Regions from separate parts of the Homo sapiens genome. Here region 1 is linked to region 2. The links are contacts of gene promoters, found by promoter capture Hi-C in blood cells and fetal thymus (Javierre and others, 2016). All regions are on one chromosome and are shown on one strand. The core of a region is centred on a gene start or on the middle of the fragment in contact, and the rest is flanking DNA. Distances in the headings are between cores, read along the strand shown. Region 1 has its middle 18 kb from the start of CXCR4. Region 2 holds the start of FAM168B (family with sequence similarity 168 member B).

Evidence for each region. Contacts are between HindIII fragments. The CHiCAGO score rates a contact against its expected background, and 5 or more counts as called.
Region 1: a fragment that was not itself captured here is called in contact with the fragment with the promoter of FAM168B in region 2 in 1 of 17 cell types (fetal thymus); the score reaches 7.6 in fetal thymus.

What each region holds. Positions count from the first base shown.
Region 1 is chr2:136,134,446-136,138,029 of GRCh38, forward strand. No RefSeq gene overlaps it. Among named protein-coding and RNA genes, the nearest start is that of CXCR4, 18 kb to the left of the region's middle. RefSeq lists an enhancer at 2,183-2,232. The HindIII fragment of the contact is 2,115 bases long and covers 823-2,937 here.
Region 2 is chr2:131,091,287-131,094,888 of GRCh38, forward strand. FAM168B (family with sequence similarity 168 member B) reads right to left here and starts at 2,174. Exons shown (of 7, transcript NM_001009993.4): 1 at 1,928-2,174. RefSeq lists a silencer at 1,628-2,347. The HindIII fragment of the contact is 2,381 bases long and covers 1,244-3,602 here.

The sequences.
Region 1 (3,584 bases), core at 630-3,129, 5.0 Mb after region 2:
TTTCCCAAGGTGAAACTCAGCCTGTCTTTTCAGGTGTTGAGAAAGAGAGTCAAAACTTCAAAGTTGAGGGGGTGGGGGTGCGGGGTGGGGGACCCAGCTACCAAAGGGAAGCCCGAAAGCACTCTTTTCAAGGATAGGAAAACACTCACCAACGTCAGATTCTAACACTGAGCTGAGTGGTTTGCTATGTGCAGCTTTCTAGTGGCTTGGATTTTTCTTTCCTAATTTTTTTTTAAACCATCATCCTCTGGTTGCCATCATCCTCTTAGCATTCCTGACCTCCCAGAGTTTGGCCTCACTTGATTTACCGAATATTACCTTCCGGCTCCTTTTTATCAAAGGCCATTGCTATATCCATGGTGGTCTCCTCCCTGACCTCACTTCACACAGATTGCAGCAGTGATTTTTCTTTCCTTTCTTTTCTTTTTTGAGACAGTGTGTTGCTCTGTTGTCTAGGCTGGAATGCAGAGGCATAATCATGGCTCACTGCAGCCTCTGCCTCCTGAGTCAAGTGATCCTCCCACCTTAGTCTCTCGAGTAGTTAGGACTACAGACACAGGCCACCATGCCCGTCTAACTTTTATTTTTTTGGAGACAAGATCTCGAGATGTTGCCCAGGGTGTCTCGAACTCCTGGGCTCAAGCCATCCTCCCACCTTGGCGGCCTCCCAAAGTGCTGGGATTTCAGGCGTGAGCCTCCACGCCTGGGCCAGGAGTGATTTTTCTATGGGAGTTATTATCCACTCATTTCTGCACCACCTTCTGCATTGATAGAAATCCTTTTCATCTTAGAGCCCATTTTCCATCCCATGTCCTGGGTAAAAGCTTCCTGATGGATATTCAGTTCCTTACTTCCCCAAATGCTTGCTGAGCACTCTGTCCCAGGCACCAGACATAGGGATAAAGGCAGTGCACAAGGCCGACCAGGAACCTGTCCTCATGGAGCTCACAAGGATCCAGACAAGTGCACCTGCACTTATAGTTCAACCTAAACCAAACGTGGAAGGCTTTCCAAAAGAGATGACCTCAAAACTAAGACAAAACAAGTAAATGGGAGTTAATGAGGTGAAGGGGGTAAAGTGAGGTGTTTTGCTTTTCCTTGCACTCATGGTATGAAGCATCTTCTGGCACTCTGTTTTGCATCAGCTTGTGTTGTTTCTATGCTCAATGTAGGCATGCTGTTTGTTACCTTTAAGGTGCTATAACTCTTTGAGAGCCAGAGAGTGTGGTACTTTTCCACTTATCCTTCTCAAGTTTTAGCACAGTATGGTATAGTTTGCAAGGAAGGAAAGTAGCATTTAAGGAGGGCCCATTGTGTGTCTGTCACTTTGTGTGCAAGAGGTAAAAGCTACTGTGTTACTGAAAGGAATGGGAAGCCATACAGTTAGGGCAGTGCCACAGGCTGGAAATCAGGATAGTGGTTGTATTTTTGTCTCCACTGCTGAGTGGGTGTGTGATTTTGGGTGAATCTCTAAACTTCCTCTGGGCCTGACCTGATTTCCTCATCAGTGGAATGAAGGTATTCCACTCCAGCATCTTCCAGCTCTGTCATCTACTTTTTCCTGTGGCCTTGCAGGCCATCTGGTTGTTGTTGAACTGGTGGGAAGACAACTGCAGAAGTTAGTTCAGGGGTTAAATCTGGAAACCCAATGTGGAAATGAAACCGCAGCCCTGAATACATTAAGTGCTGGGTTAGTTGGAGACTAAGGAAAGAAAGTCCCTGAGGAATGAGCCCATGTGAGCTTTAGCGCCTCTGTGCCCACTACCAGGAGCCCCCAGTGCAAGCTATCAGCCAGGGAGGAACAGTGTTTGCTCGGGCTTTGCTCTGTGGGCATGCAGAGCTTCCACCCGGCAGCATCTACACCTGCGGTCTTGTAACCTAGCTACAGAAATAGCAAGTATGTGCGCAGAAGGCAAGTTGATGAGCTAGACAGTGGGTACAGACACTTACAGCAGAACTTTGGTGCTGAAAACACCTAGTTCAGGACATCATGTACTAACTCAAGGGTGCCTCCCCCTTTTTGTCTCTCTTAAATTTTTCAAAACAGGAAGAAACTTTTCTTCAACTGCAGGCACCAATAACCTATGACCTTCTAGAGAGATCATTTTGGAAACCATCTAAGAAAGCTACCCTCACTGAGGGGATGCTAGTCACTCTTTTCCCCTCTCCCCACAACTCCCCACCCTCCTTTTTTTTTTGTAACTCTGGGCTTCTGGCAACAGTTTGGAAGGTTGGCACAAGGCCATCTGAAACCACAGTGGGGTGTTAGGTAATCTGTTCTCATTAAAATGCTGTTCTGTGGTTTAATTTTCAACGGTTTCTTTGCAGCTTGAAAACACACATACTATATTTTTTGAGGTAAGGAGAGATGGCTGTTACAGAGGCAAAAAGGCGGGAAGATGGGGTACCCCTAAGACACTTCCTGGTATGTTTCCAGAAAAGAAACAGCTGCTTTCATTCTAGAGGGGGCAAATTGAGCCTAAGGCAGCATTTAGGGAGCTTCCTGGACATAACTGACTCTAGGGACAAATGCTTCAAACACATCTGAAAACTCTCCAGATTGAAAGGATCAAATCATATGACCATTCCCCCACTTAGTCATTGAATTGAGCACTTTTATTGACTGTCTACCAAGTGCCAGGCACTGGGAGACATTTCAAATCACACCTGAGGACAGAGAGACAGAAACCACTGCCCAGCAGGAGATCACCACCAGGTGGTTGATGACAAATAGGGCGGTGCAGTACAGTGGGGTAAGCAAGCTGCTTGTTTCTTCTCATCCTCACCTTCATGGAATTCCCACCTTTTGAAGTGTATCAGTGAAGATAGCAAACTAAAGCCCAGGGTTATCATTTCTTTCTAAAAAAGAGAATTGCAACACATTCAAATGCTCTCATTGCCACAAAAAGGCCTTAAGGTTGCCAAGTTTTGAGTTCAAGCTTTAGATGAGTTGCATTCTGTCATGAGCAGCATAACCTCTGTAGGGGTGGTAGGGTGTAACCCCTTTCCTACCCATCATAAGGGTTACAGCCAATACTGCTATAACAAAAGACAGGTTAACAAGAGAAAAACATAGCAAATGTATTAATCAAAGTTTATATGACATAAAAGCCTTCAGAAATGAAGACTCAAAGACCCAGAGAAAGCTGTTTTTATGCTTAGGTTTAATGAAGAATGGACAGCGGGTAGAAATGTGATTGGAGAAAGGGTATGGTGTAATGGTGATAGACTGAGGGGGATATCCAGGGAGGCTGTCTGTTCAAATTCTTCTTGGCCTCTCTGTGCAGCATTCCCTCCTCCCAGGTATGGGGGCAGGACCCTCCGGAATGAAGGTCTTCAAAGGAGAAGGGAGAGAGTGACCTTTCTGGTTTTATGGCTTGCTTTAAGGGAGAGGGGTTCTATTTTCTATGATCTGCCGTGGGGAAGGAGAATTCTAGTTTGTATGGCTCACTTTGGGGGAGAAATGAAGAGAGGTGGAAGACAGGAGGGGAGAAGAAGGTCAGAAAGACTTTGCTTCTGAGGTCTTCCAATCTCCTTTAGTTCAAAGTACTCAGCGTGCCCAAGTGCCATGCTCTGGGTTGCTG
Region 2 (3,602 bases), core at 924-3,423:
CGAGATCACTCCACTGCACTCCAGCCTGGGCGACAGAACAAAACTGTCTCAAAAAAATAAATGAATAAATAAAAAATAAAGCATATAGGCCGAGCGCGGTGGTGTCTCCAGCACTTTGGGAGGCCGACGTAGGTGGACCACCTGAGGTCAGGAGTTCAAGACCAGACTGGGCAACATGGTAAAACCCCGTCTCTACTAAAAATACAAAAAATTAGCTGGGCGCAGTGGTGTGTGCCTGTAATCCCAGCTACTCGGGAGGCTGAGACAGGAGAATCCCTTGAGCCCGGGAGGCGGAGGTTGCAGTGAGCCGAGATCACGCCATTGCACTCCAGCCTGGGCGACAGAGCGACACTCCGTCTCACAAAAAAAAAAAAGAAAAAAGAAAAGAAGTTCTCTCCCCCAAACTTTACCTTCATTACCAAGGTTTGGGTTTGCATTTTACTGGGAGGAATTCATGTATTTCTGCACAGTACAATCAGACAGACTTAACAGACTGGACACAAGGCATGAAAAAACTATTACTCTATTACGCTGGTGTACTGTTCTTTTAAAATTGTGCTCGGCCAGGCGCGGTGGCTCACGTCTGTAATCCCAGCACTTTGGAAGGTCGAGGCGGGCGGATCACGAGGTCAGGAGATTGGGACCATCCTGGCTAACACGGTGAAACCTCGTCTCTACTAAAAAAAAAAAAAAACAAATACAAAAAAATTAGCCAGGCGTGGTGGCGGGCGCCTGCAGTCCCAGCTACTTGGGAGGCTGAGGCAAAAGACTGACGTGAATCCGGGAGGCGGAGCTTGCAGTGAGCCGAGATGGCGCCACTGCACTCCAGTCTGGGAAACAGAGGGAGACTCCGTCTCAAAAAAAAAAAAAAAAGTGCTCAATTGATCCAGGAAAAGAAACTGTCTAAGACAACTTGGGTATAATTTCCCTTTAAACTACGGAACTCCACCAAAGTAAGCCTGCTTTGTAAAGACAAAGAGAAGCAAGATCTTCACAATTTCTGCAACACTAGCTTCAAAATTAGAATAGCCTTACACTGCTCAAATCTTGGCTGTCAAAGCAAAAATAACCCACTCCTTCATCTACAAGAGCTTAAAAATGTGTCCTGTTTTTGCCAAAACCAAAAAGTTTTATTTAATCTAGAATCTTTCATCCATAGTATTTGAGAAAAGTGATCTCAAATTACACAAGGATGACCTGAAAGTTTAAGGAGTGGAAACTATATAAACCTTTTTATTTATAAAGCTTCCTTGCATGCGAAAACACTGCAAAATATTCTTGTTTGACTTTAATGATTAAACATTAACTCAAACAGCCCATGAGATGCACACTTCATGTTCACATACACTATAAAACAGAAATACCCTTATTTGTGGACGTCGTAAAGGCGCACTGCACTCTTTTTTCAAAGTTAACCCAGGCTAGGCCACGAAACGTCCTTTCTGAAGGAAATCTTAAAAATCTGTAATTTAAATCGTGCCTTTTCAAGCTGGAAGGAGAACGCTCAGATTCCGCCAAGCAAAAAAATAAAAATAAAAATTATCTTTACTTCGTGGGTAGACAAAGTGAGCAGTTACACATTGGAAATGACTATTGTCACAAAGCTCTGCCCCCGGGTTTCACGCTCGCATTCCTGACGGCTGTGACCCCGACCTTTAGGAGAACGCCCCGCGCCGCGAAGCCACCTCGGCCACCTAGGCGGCAGGCCCGCGCCGCCCGGACCGCACCTGCACGCGTACGTGTCCGGCCGAGCTCCGCCCCCGGCCCCCGCCCGGCCTTGCCCGCGGCACAAAGCGCAGCCCAGGCCGGTCCAGACGCCCAGCGACCCCGAGCCGCGGGCCGACCTTGGCGCCGCCCCGAGCCGGCCGCACAAAGCGCCGCACTTCCGGCCTGGACGCGCAGTCGCCCGCTGCCCGCCCCCACTCACCGCGCCGCGGCGGCGACCTGGGCCTCAGTGACCAGCGCACGCCGGCCCGCGGCGGGCTTGGCCGTGGGGCGAAACAAGGGGGGCGTGCCGAGGAGACCTGCTACGATAAGAGGCTGACCCTCCGAGCCCCGCGTCTCCGCCGCCTCCCGGACGCCGCGCTCCCGCTCGCTCGGCTCCGCTTGGCCCGGCCCGCCTCTCCGCAGCCCGCGCTCCCCGCCGACGCTGCGCAGCCACCGGAGCCGCCGACCTCACTTCCGCCTGAGCGCGCCGCGACGGGGGCGCGCCGGGCACGTGACTGCGCAGCGTGCTCGCTCCCGCCGGCGCCCTCGAGACGCCCGGATGGACGAGCGCGAGCGCGAGCGCGGAGTGGGCCGGTCCCAGTTGGCGAAAGGGCCGGGTGTAGCTGTAGTTTTTTTATTAACTGTCTGTGAAAAAAGTATTTAATTTATATTTTGAGATAGTCCCGCGCCGCAGAAACCTTTGTGTGTGCCCAGACGCCAGGGCGCGGATCCTCAGGCCGCACCCGGGAGTCGAGCACACCCCGGGTGACCGCCACTACGGGGTCGGAGCGGGGCGGAGCTCAGCTCACAGATTCTTTGCCAGTGCGGAGGCTGCGGGCGCCCGCTCAGGAGTGCAGATTTTAGAGAATGCAAGTCAGCGTTTCAAGTGTAGAAGTGCGGGATCATTTCTATAGACAAGAGTTCAGGGAAGTGTACTAGAATGTTAGGGGGTTTTTTGGTTTTTTTTTGAGACGGAGTTTCGCTCTTGTCACCCAGGCTGGAGTACAATGGCGCGATCTTGGCTCACTGCAACCTCCGCTTCCCGGGTTCAAGCGATTCTCCTGCCTCAGCCTCCTGAGTAATTGAGATTCCAGGCGCCCGCCACCACACCTGGCTAATTTTTGTGTTAGTAGAGACGGGGGTTTCACCATGTTGGTCAGGCTAGTCTCGAACCCGTGACCTCAGGTGATCCACCCACGTTGGCCTCCCAAAGTGCTGGGATTACAAGTGTGAGCCACCGCACCCGGCCAAATGTTAGTATTTTTATGTAAGGCTTAGTGTATAGTTACAATGATTTGGTTAGTTCAGGGTGTCTCTCTGGGGGAGGTATGTTTATTATTTCGTATTAAAGAGGTGCGTGTCTTGGTGTTTGTGTTTGGGGTGTCGTCTGGTCTGAGCTAGGTACAGGACGACAAAGGAGGGAGTTATTGCAATAAAGATTAGTGATGGAAGGGAGGAGGCCTGGCTCTGGTCTTTTTTCAGTCGTTTATGAAATAAAAACAGATGGGCGCGGTGTCTCACGCCTTTAATCCCGGCACTTATAGGAGGCCGAGGCGGGCAGATCACGAGGTCAGGAGTTCAAGACCAGCCTGGCCAACATAGTGAAACCGCGTCTCTACTAAAAATACAAAAATTAGCTGCGCGTGGTGGCGCACATCTGTAACCTTAGCTGCTCTGGAGGCTGAGGCAGGAGAATCTCTTGAACCCGGGAGGCGGAGGTTGCAGTGAGCCGAGATCGGGCCACTGCACTCCAGCCTGGGCGACAGAGGAAGACTCCGTCTCAAAAAAAAAAATAAAAATAAAATATAAATGTGATAAAAGGACAAGAAGAAAACATGGGGAAATTCCTTTTTAGTATTGGAGTAAAGAAGGCTTTTCTACATTATTACTTGAAA